Linked DNA regions of Homo sapiens: all the other regions are linked to region 2. Evidence: promoter capture Hi-C in 16 types of primary human blood cells and fetal thymus (Javierre and others, 2016). All regions are on one chromosome and are shown on one strand. The core of a region is centred on a gene start or on the middle of the fragment in contact, and the rest is flanking DNA. Distances in the headings are between cores, read along the strand shown.

Region 1 (2,700 bases), core at 49-2,548, 2.1 Mb after region 2:
CCGCCTCACCCCCGCGAGGGCCTGCGGGCCCCCTCGCGCCTCCACCTGACGCTCTGGAAGGCGGGGGCCGCCAGCCGCTGCCCACAGAGAACTCGCACTTTTTCGCTGCGCGATTCAGAACCACGCCGGGTCTGATGCCATCCGGCGAATTATGTAACCAGGGACACCGCTCCCGGGCTAAACAAACGCGGCTCTGTGTGTGCAGCGCCGGCCCCGGGGGAGCGCACCGGGCAGGGAGGGGCTCTGGCCGGGCCTCAGGGTCGGGCTTGTTTGCTCAGCGAAACTGGTCAGAGGCAGCCGGGAGGGAGCCCGACGCCGCCAAGGTCCCGGGGCCTGCGCTGAGCCGGGAACCCGCCACGTCTGGTGCGCCAGGGCCCGGGCCCCTCCCCCACCGCGACCGCCCCCGCCTCCAAGAGGTGAACTTGGTCCCAAGTCCCGCCGGACGCCGTCACCGCCAGCTAGCTGCCCGAACGACCTCGGGCTTGGGGGGGCCTGCAAGTGCTGGACTCCAGTCTCGGTTCCGTTCCACCTGGGGCTCCCTCTGTCACCTTCCTAACCCCTCCCCGCGATCCCGGGGCAGCCGCGCGCGGCGGTGAAGGAAAGTGACGACCCCACCCCCAACTCCGGAGGCGGTGGACGCGGAGTGGCCCAGTGCTTCGAGAGCTACCCCTCCGTCTCTCAGCCCCGAGGGGGAGGGGTTGCGGGACAGGGTGACAGCTGCGCCGAAGACGCCCTTTCCGCTCGGGCGCCGGGATCCCCGTGCAACCCCCACGGAGGTCTGAGTGCCAGCCGGGATGCGGGGGCGGATGGACCGGAGGGGTCCAGTCGGGATCGCTGGCTCTAAGCCCTGGAGGTCAAGGGCCGAGACCTGGGTTCGGGGCTGTGCTAGCCCCCTCCGCGCCCGGGGGCGACGCAAAGTTTTGGGAAGTTGCTGCCCCTACCTTGCTTGGTGAGCACCAGGGCGTCTTCCCTCCGCGCCTGGGTGATGATGGAGCCGTGTTCCATCTAACAATCCCGCGGGCCCGGGCTGGCTGGGCGGGAGGACGGGCGGGCGCGCGGGCTGGGCTGGGCTGGGGGGCCTGGGCGGGGGCCCGCTCCGGCTCCCGAGACTCCGACTTCCACAGCTGTTCACATCCCCCCTCTCGTTTCCTCCCCGGACCGGGAAGGGAGGCGGCCTGTACAAAGGGCGGGCGGCCCGGGCAGCGGCTCCCCCGGGTGCCCCCGGCCCCGATCCCCCAGCGGCAGCTCCGGGCTCCTCAGTTTGGGTCCAACATGGAGAATCCGGAGCGAAAACAAGAGGAGGAAATGGGACACGGGGCGGTTTCCAGGCTCCCCCCTCCCCTCCGTACTCCAGATAAACAACCCGCGGCTGCAGCGCCCACCCCCGCGCGCCTCCCGGCTCTCGACTCGGCCTCTTCACGGCCAGCTGGAGCTTCCCGCTGGGGGCTGCGTCCTAGGCCCTGGGACCCTCCATCTGTGAGCGGCCGGGGCTGCGGACAGTCGGGAGCTTTGCTATTTTGTTACGGAAAAAGCGAATCCTCAAGGGGGGTGGGGTGGCGGGCGGGCAGGCTGGCGGGGGAGACTTGAAACCGTTCCGGTGCTCCGATTGGCTCTCTTGGAGAAAAGGGGCGTGGCCCCTCCTTACTATGCGGTGAGAGGACCTAACAACATTCCAGGCGCCACGGCCACGCCCCCGGGCCACTCCCCCCGCGCCAGACTGCGGCCTCCCAGTCTCCTCGGCCACACCCCCTTCCCAACTATTTAAAAGGCCGCTCCGAAGCTCACGTTCTGGTGCTCTGTGCTGGGGTGTTCTTTTCTCGGAGGGCGCACTCGGGGAAGGTGGAAAGGTTTCCCCCTTCAGGGGTGACCAAGACAAGCCGCTAAGCCTAACCTGACTCCAGCAGGGGATGGGGCGGATCGGAAGTTACCTTACCCCCCTGCTTAGCCCTAGAATCAAGGACGTACCAAGTCACATAAAAGTACAACCGTCGAGGCCAGGCGCGGTGGCTCACGCCTGTAATCCCAGCACTTTGGAAGGCCGAGGTGGGTGGATCACGAGGTCAGGAGTTCAAGACCAGCCTGGCCAAGATGGTGAAACCCCGTCTCTACTAAAAATACAAAAAAATTAGCCGGGCGTGGTGGCGGGCGCCTGTAATCCCAGCTACTCGGGAGGCTGAGGCAAAGACTTGCTTGAACCCGGGAGGCGGAGATTGCAGGTAGCCGAGATCGCGCCACTGCACTCCAGCCTGGGCGACAGAGCGAGACTCTGTCTCAAAAAAAAAAAAAAAAAAGTACAACCTTCGAATCCCGAAAGGGGTGTGTGCGTGTGGGCGGACCTAGGACTCCAGAGTATAAGAGCTGGAACTGACCTCGGGACTGTGTCCCCCAAAACACTGAAAATGAGACCTGAGGTGCTGGGCTTTCCTCACACCCACCGACTTACTCCCATTTAGGCGGCCCCGACTCCGCCCCTCCTCCCTACCTCCCTCATCCTACCCCTCTCTTTTTGCCCCCACAGTCCCAGCTTCCTTTAGATGGATGGAGGTCTCTCGGAGGAGCTTCAGCTTTGTGGACTCAGGCTGCCTTCCCCACTTGCTCTTTAGGCCTCGGGGCACGCTCCGCTGGCTACAGCTCCTGGAGTCTCTGCTCAAGGTTGTGGGTGCTTTTGTTCCCCAGCGGTGGTAGCTCCAGAAAGGCTGG
Region 2 (2,700 bases), core at 117-2,616:
TTGAAGGGGTGGGATGTTCCACTAATTCCCCTATCCTACCCCGCCCCTCCCAGCTCTTTGTAGAGCAACTTGAGTCAACTCTGAGTCCTAGCACTGGGCAAGGGAGGAACAGCTGCCGTGGTTAGAGAAGCAGCCAGATTTCCCCTTCCCCACGTTAACTTCCCTGGCATTTACAACTTGATGCCATCTGCCCACCTCCCTTCACCCTTCCAAGTCCAGCTGTCACTTCAGCAGGAGGGAGAGCACCCTCCTTCATTACAGCTTACCACCCTCTCCTCTGCCTCCCACCCTCTGGCAAGCCTGGGGAGCAGCTGGCAGGAAAGAGATGGCAGAGCTGGTGGTGGTGAGAGTAGAACCTGTTCCGGGAGCTATGGCAGAGCCAGGCTGTCTCTTACCTTCCTATTGGGTCTCTAGGGACCACACCCTGCCCCAGCCCTAAATGAGAATGCAAGTAACAGCCAAAGACTTGGGAAAAAGCAAAGAACATTGTCTCTTGACCCTAAGTGACCCAGAAGCGTGCAGAGATGATGATTTGCTAGTCTGCCTATTGGAAGAAAGGCAGTATGGTACCTTCCACCCCAGGTCAAGTAGAACAGCTCGGTGTGAATCCAGAGACTGAGTCATCCAAGTGAGCCATGCAGGGGCTGGGGTCATCTTTGTTACTCATCTTGGGGGAAGGTTGAGAGAAAGAAAGTTGTGGCTGGGGCCTCTGATCTCCCTTCTCTCCAGGCAGCTCTCTTTACTCAGTGTGAATATAGAAGCAGGTGGTCAATGGGGAAAACCAGAAGTTCAGGAATTCTCAGGGGAGTCTGTTTCAGTTCCTACCCGACCCTTGACAGTGACCCAGCTGTCTCCCAAAAAGAAGGAACAGGGTCTGCCCTCCCATTTCCTCCCTCCCACATTGGCACCTCCTGGGCTCTGCTGTGCCCATCATTTGTGAGATTGGCCCAGGCCTTTCCCTCTTCTTTTCCTTTGCTAGATGCCACCCCACTTTCAGCTTAGAGGGCAGCTAAGCCAAAGCCAGATTAGAAAGGGTTTTGTGTTGCTGCCCACGCCTCCTCTCATTCCCCGGAAAGGAAAACAAAGGCTCAGTCTATCTTGGCCCCTGTCAGGTGTCCTGCCCACTCCCTCAGCCCCCACCAACCCCTTCCCCGCTCCAGCCCCCACACATTCCAGTGGGTGGGGGCACCGGATGTGGAATCTCCTGGCTGAGTAGAGCTCTGGGGTGGGAAGTGAAAAATTCAACAGCCAATAAAGGAGAACAATTATTGCAGGGGTTGGGGAGGGCAAAAAACACTGGCAGAAGGTTGGGGACACCAACCCCATGGTAGTAATGGTAACCACAGCCCATACCTTGATTGAAAAGAAAAACTAGTGCCTAAGGCAGAAGGGAGGGAGAGCATGTGTGTGTGTGTGTGTGTGTGTGTTTGTGTGTGTTCCTTGATCTGTGTGGGCAAAAGCGAAGGCTTGGGAGAGCAACTGAGAGCCGAGAAGAAACCCCTGGGATACCCTCTTTTGACCCAGGGTTCCTGGGGAGGGGGTTTGTACTCCCATCCTAACCCGGCTTCAGGGAGGGGCCCAATTTCCCTCTCCAACTTCTTGCATAGATCCCTAGGCTTCCAATCACTGCCAGATGTGTTCCTCCTGCTGGATTTTCCCAGTTTTTCCATGCCCCTTTTTCCCTCCCAGCTTTTTCCTCAGGGATATCACCCCAGGTTTTCCCTCCCTTCCCCCACTCAGCTGCAGGAACTCCTTTTTGGGGTTTGGAGCTGGTATGTTTCTAGTCAGCTCCGAGCTTGGCTCTCCTGGGAATCCTGGGAGTGAAAGGAAGGAGCTGGGTTTATTTGCATGTACTGGTAGTCATTTGCATCACATCCAAAAATGGCCAAAATTATGAGCCCTGATTCTTGGCTGAACTCCCACTGCTGCAATGGAATATTAGTCCCGGAGACCACCCCCAACTAGCTGGAGCTGATCTCCTCCCTCCTCCAACCCCCCAGTGTGGCCCAGGCCTACATGAACCAGAGAAAGCTGGACCATGAGGTGAAGACCCTACAGGTCCAGGCTGCCCAATTTGCCAAGCAGACAGGCCAGTGGATCGGAATGGTGGAGAACTTCAACCAGGCACTCAAGGTGGGCCATACTCCCTACCTCACCACCCCAATCCTGGGCCCCCATTGGCTGCCTCCAGTCAGGTTACCTCAGGTTTAGGTTAAGGAGGAAGTAGGGTGGTCCCAGAAACCCCATCTATAGCCCCAGTGTCAGAAAAGGTAGAGAAAGAAAGAAAAGCAGTTGGTGGGTCCAAGTAAAGCCTTTTCCAGGAGATGAATAAAACGTATTCCCCAGACTGGAAGCCATACTCTACCCATTCTGATTCCTGGGCTCCCACCTCCTCTCCCCCTTCCCAGGAAATTGGGGATGTGGAGAACTGGGCTCGGAGCATCGAGCTGGACATGCGCACCATTGCCACTGCACTGGAATATGTCTACAAAGGGCAGCTGCAGTCTGCCCCTTCCTAGCCCCTGTTCCCTCCCCCAACCCTATCCCTCCTACCTCACCCGCAGGGGGAAGGAGGGAGGCTGACAAGCCTTGAATAAAACACAAGCCTCCGTTTCTCTGTGGTGTGTTTCAGAGAGCTACTAGCTCCAGTGTCGGGGGTGGGAGTGGAAGGTTCAAAGGTGGTTTCCCTGAGGGACAGGT
Region 3 (2,700 bases), core at 189-2,688, 2.1 Mb after region 2:
AAGAGGAACCCAAAAAACAGGAGAGTGGGGCAGAAGGAATGAGATCTGGCGAGGGAGGGGCAAAGGGGAGGGGAGATGGTAGAATCTCTGAGAAAAGACAGTTCAGGATCACTGGCCACAACGGCTAATCTCTGATGCTTGTGCTGACCAGCTCACTGACCCGGAACCTGGCAGATGAAATGGCTCATGTAGGGATTGACGCCAGAAAGGACAACCCAGGTTTTAAGAAGCATTTGAGGCAGCCCCCTCCACTCTCCAGGGCAAAGGTCACAGACCCAGAGTAGAGGGTAGGTGGAGCCTCTCCATGCTGATGTCACCAGTGTCTGGACGAAAGGGGAAAGGCCAATTATGACCCCCCACAAAAGTTGCTGAGGCAGCAGAAGCTACTAGGCCTCTTCTCACCCCAAAAAGAGGGCCTGAGTGTTACCTAACAGGCCACCATAGCCACAGCCTATGTCTGCAAACTCCACTTGGGCCTGAGCTCTCTTTTCTTTCTTATCCTTTGGGTCATCGTGGCTCTGATTTTGAGTGAGTGGAGCGAAGAACTCTGGGTATAGCTCAGACCAGTCCATCTCCTCTGGCTTCACAGGGCTATTGGAAAGAAGACATAAGAAGCATGAGAAGGTTGGTCACACCATTGCAGAAGTGGTACTGTGAGAGTGTGTGGGTGGGTGAGGGTGGGAGGTAAAAGGGAGGAGGGTTTCTCAAAAATTCTGTAACACTGGGCCCTGTGGCCTCTAAGAGGGACAATGGAAACCACCCTTAACTCCCAGTGTGAATCATAGGACCATCATGAGGCCCATAAACGCTGACCTGCCCAACTCCACTTCTGGCGGTTGATGTGACCCTGGCCGGGTAACTGCCCTTTCTGGGGCACAAGTTCCCCTTCTCCCGAGACTGGCTGCCTAATGCACTGGGATCCTACTTTGTGTTTGTGCTCTGCGGGGAGGGAAGGTAAGGTAAGGTGCGGGCAGGATTGTGTATATGTTTGCCTTTTTATTAAATCCAACAAACAAAAGCAAAAGATGGAAACGACATTCTGCCTCTATCACTTCAGTCTCAGTAACAATTTATTTCTCTTCCCAAACTTAGCACCGCTACCCAGACTTAGGCCCGAACGCCACGCCCACTCTCAACCCGCCAACTCCTCTCTCGGTCGAATCTCCCGGTCCCACCCCCAAAAACTGACGTCACCCATCTGATCCTCCCGGGTCTACCCCAAATCCTCCCAGCAGTTGCAGCACAACTGCTCTCCCGGCTGCTTTGAGAATCCCGCCCTCCTCTCTCTCCCTCTGCCCACTCCTCACTAGCGCAGCGTGTGGTCCGCCATGGGGTTGGAGTGAGCACGTTGCCGGTAGTAGCGCTTCTGGGGCGGTGGGGCCTCTGCTCCGGCCACGTTCCGAGTCTCGGCTGCCATGATCCCAGTCCGGGGTTTCTCTACCAAATCCACGTGGAGGCGCAGGCCAGAGGCGCAAGTTAATGACGCAGCCATGCGCGTTGGTGGCAGTTCCCGCCCCTTAAAGACCCAAGAGCAAATTCAGCTGGGCTGGGCTGGGCTGGGCTGGGCTAGGTGGGGAGGGCTGTAAGGAGCGAGTGCTGGAGGGAACCTCCGCACCGTTAGCCTCCAACTGGGAGGGCGAGGCCAGGCCCAGGGACCCAACGTTTTCTCTTAGCTTGCTTCTGCCTGGTCTGGGTTACCATCCTGGTTGCAGGCACCTGTGCACCCCACAGGTGAGAGGGGTCTAGAGACCTCGCCTTCTACAGTGGCATCAGTCCTCGCTCCTGTCCCCTTACTCCTGGTCTCGGACCAGTCCGCCCGGTCTGACTCTTGTGGTCCCGTGTGGGTTTCGTCGAGTGTGCGCTCGGGGCCGGGGCGGGAGGGGCAGCTCCTCATTCCACCTCCAGGAAATCGAACTGGAGGAAGGAGGGCAAACTCAGGGAGGCGGGGCTCGTTCCACAGGGACACCACGACGGCTCGCGGCCCCCAGCCTCTACCCCGCTCCGGATCCGGGATCTGAGCGCCGGCCGCGGTGCCCAGGCACTCCCTTGGCGGGCCGGATGGCGGACCCCGGCCCAGATCCCGAATCTGAGTCGGAATCGGTGTTCCCGCGGGAGGTCGGGCTCTTTGCAGACTCTTACTCGGAGAAGAGCCAGTTCTGTTTCTGTGGGCATGTGCTGACCATCACGCAGAACTTTGGGTCCCGCCTCGGGGTGGCGGCGCGCGTGTGGGACGCGGTGAGGAATGGGCTGCGCCGGGTGAGGGTCCGTGGGAGGTCCAGATCCCGGACTCCGCCTCTCCCATATGGAGCCATCCTCACGACTGTCTTTTTCTCTGTCTTTTCTCCCGTAGGCCCTGAGCCTGTGCAATTATTTCGAGAGTCAAAATGTGGATTTCCGAGGCAAGAAGGTGATCGAACTGGGTGCGGGGACAGGCATCGTGGGGATCTTGGCAGCGCTGCAGGGTGCGTGAGCTGGCTTTTTACGGGAGAGAGTGGGGACCCAGGGGCGCGGAGAAATGGTCACTTCGTGGATCTTTGGGGGAGAGGGGAGAACTTTGGGCCCAGTCTAACCCCTTCTTTTTAACAAATTTTTTTTTAAAATTTGTTTTTGTTTTTATTTTGGCGTCTGCTTCTGCGTGCCAGACAGCGCGAATTGCCTGTCAAAGCACCTAGGGTGGGTGATTGGGGAGGGCAGGAAATA

What was found. Contacts are between HindIII fragments. The CHiCAGO score rates a contact against its expected background, and 5 or more counts as called.
Region 1: the fragment with the promoter of CTDSP2 here is called in contact with a fragment that was not itself captured in region 2 in 3 of 17 cell types (monocytes, non-activated CD4 T cells and activated CD4 T cells); the score reaches 7.5 in monocytes.
Region 3: the fragment with the promoter of METTL1 here is called in contact with a fragment that was not itself captured in region 2 in 1 of 17 cell types (activated CD4 T cells); the score reaches 6.1 in activated CD4 T cells.

Annotation. Positions count from the first base shown.
Region 1 is chr12:57,845,431-57,848,130 of GRCh38, forward strand. It overlaps CTDSP2 (CTD small phosphatase 2), which reads right to left and starts at 1,299. Exons shown (of 8, transcript NM_005730.4): 1 at 942-1,299. The coding sequence starts at 1,005. RefSeq lists silencers at 121-420, 1,011-1,440, 1,451-1,530, 1,601-1,780. The HindIII fragment of the contact is 5,566 bases long and covers 1-2,700 here.
Region 2 is chr12:55,717,091-55,719,790 of GRCh38, forward strand. BLOC1S1 (biogenesis of lysosomal organelles complex 1 subunit 1) reads left to right here. Exons shown (of 4, transcript NM_001487.4): 3 at 2,001-2,133; 4 at 2,409-2,613. The coding sequence ends at 2,519. It overlaps BLOC1S1-RDH5 (BLOC1S1-RDH5 readthrough), which reads left to right. Exons shown (of 6, transcript NR_037658.1): 3 at 2,001-2,133. Among named protein-coding and RNA genes, the nearest start is that of RDH5, 2.0 kb to the right of the region's middle. RefSeq lists enhancers at 591-750, 851-900, 1,011-1,170. The HindIII fragment of the contact is 2,957 bases long and covers 1-2,700 here.
Region 3 is chr12:57,770,667-57,773,366 of GRCh38, forward strand. It overlaps METTL1 (methyltransferase 1, tRNA methylguanosine), which reads right to left and starts at 1,439. Exons shown (of 6, transcript NM_005371.6): 1 at 1,308-1,439; 2 at 428-591. The coding sequence starts at 1,417. It overlaps EEF1AKMT3 (EEF1A lysine methyltransferase 3), which reads left to right and starts at 1,948. Exons shown (of 3, transcript NM_015433.3): 1 at 1,948-2,235; 2 at 2,351-2,462. The coding sequence starts at 2,059. RefSeq lists enhancers at 298-1,497, 1,183-1,472, 1,603-2,112. The HindIII fragment of the contact is 5,954 bases long and covers 1-2,700 here.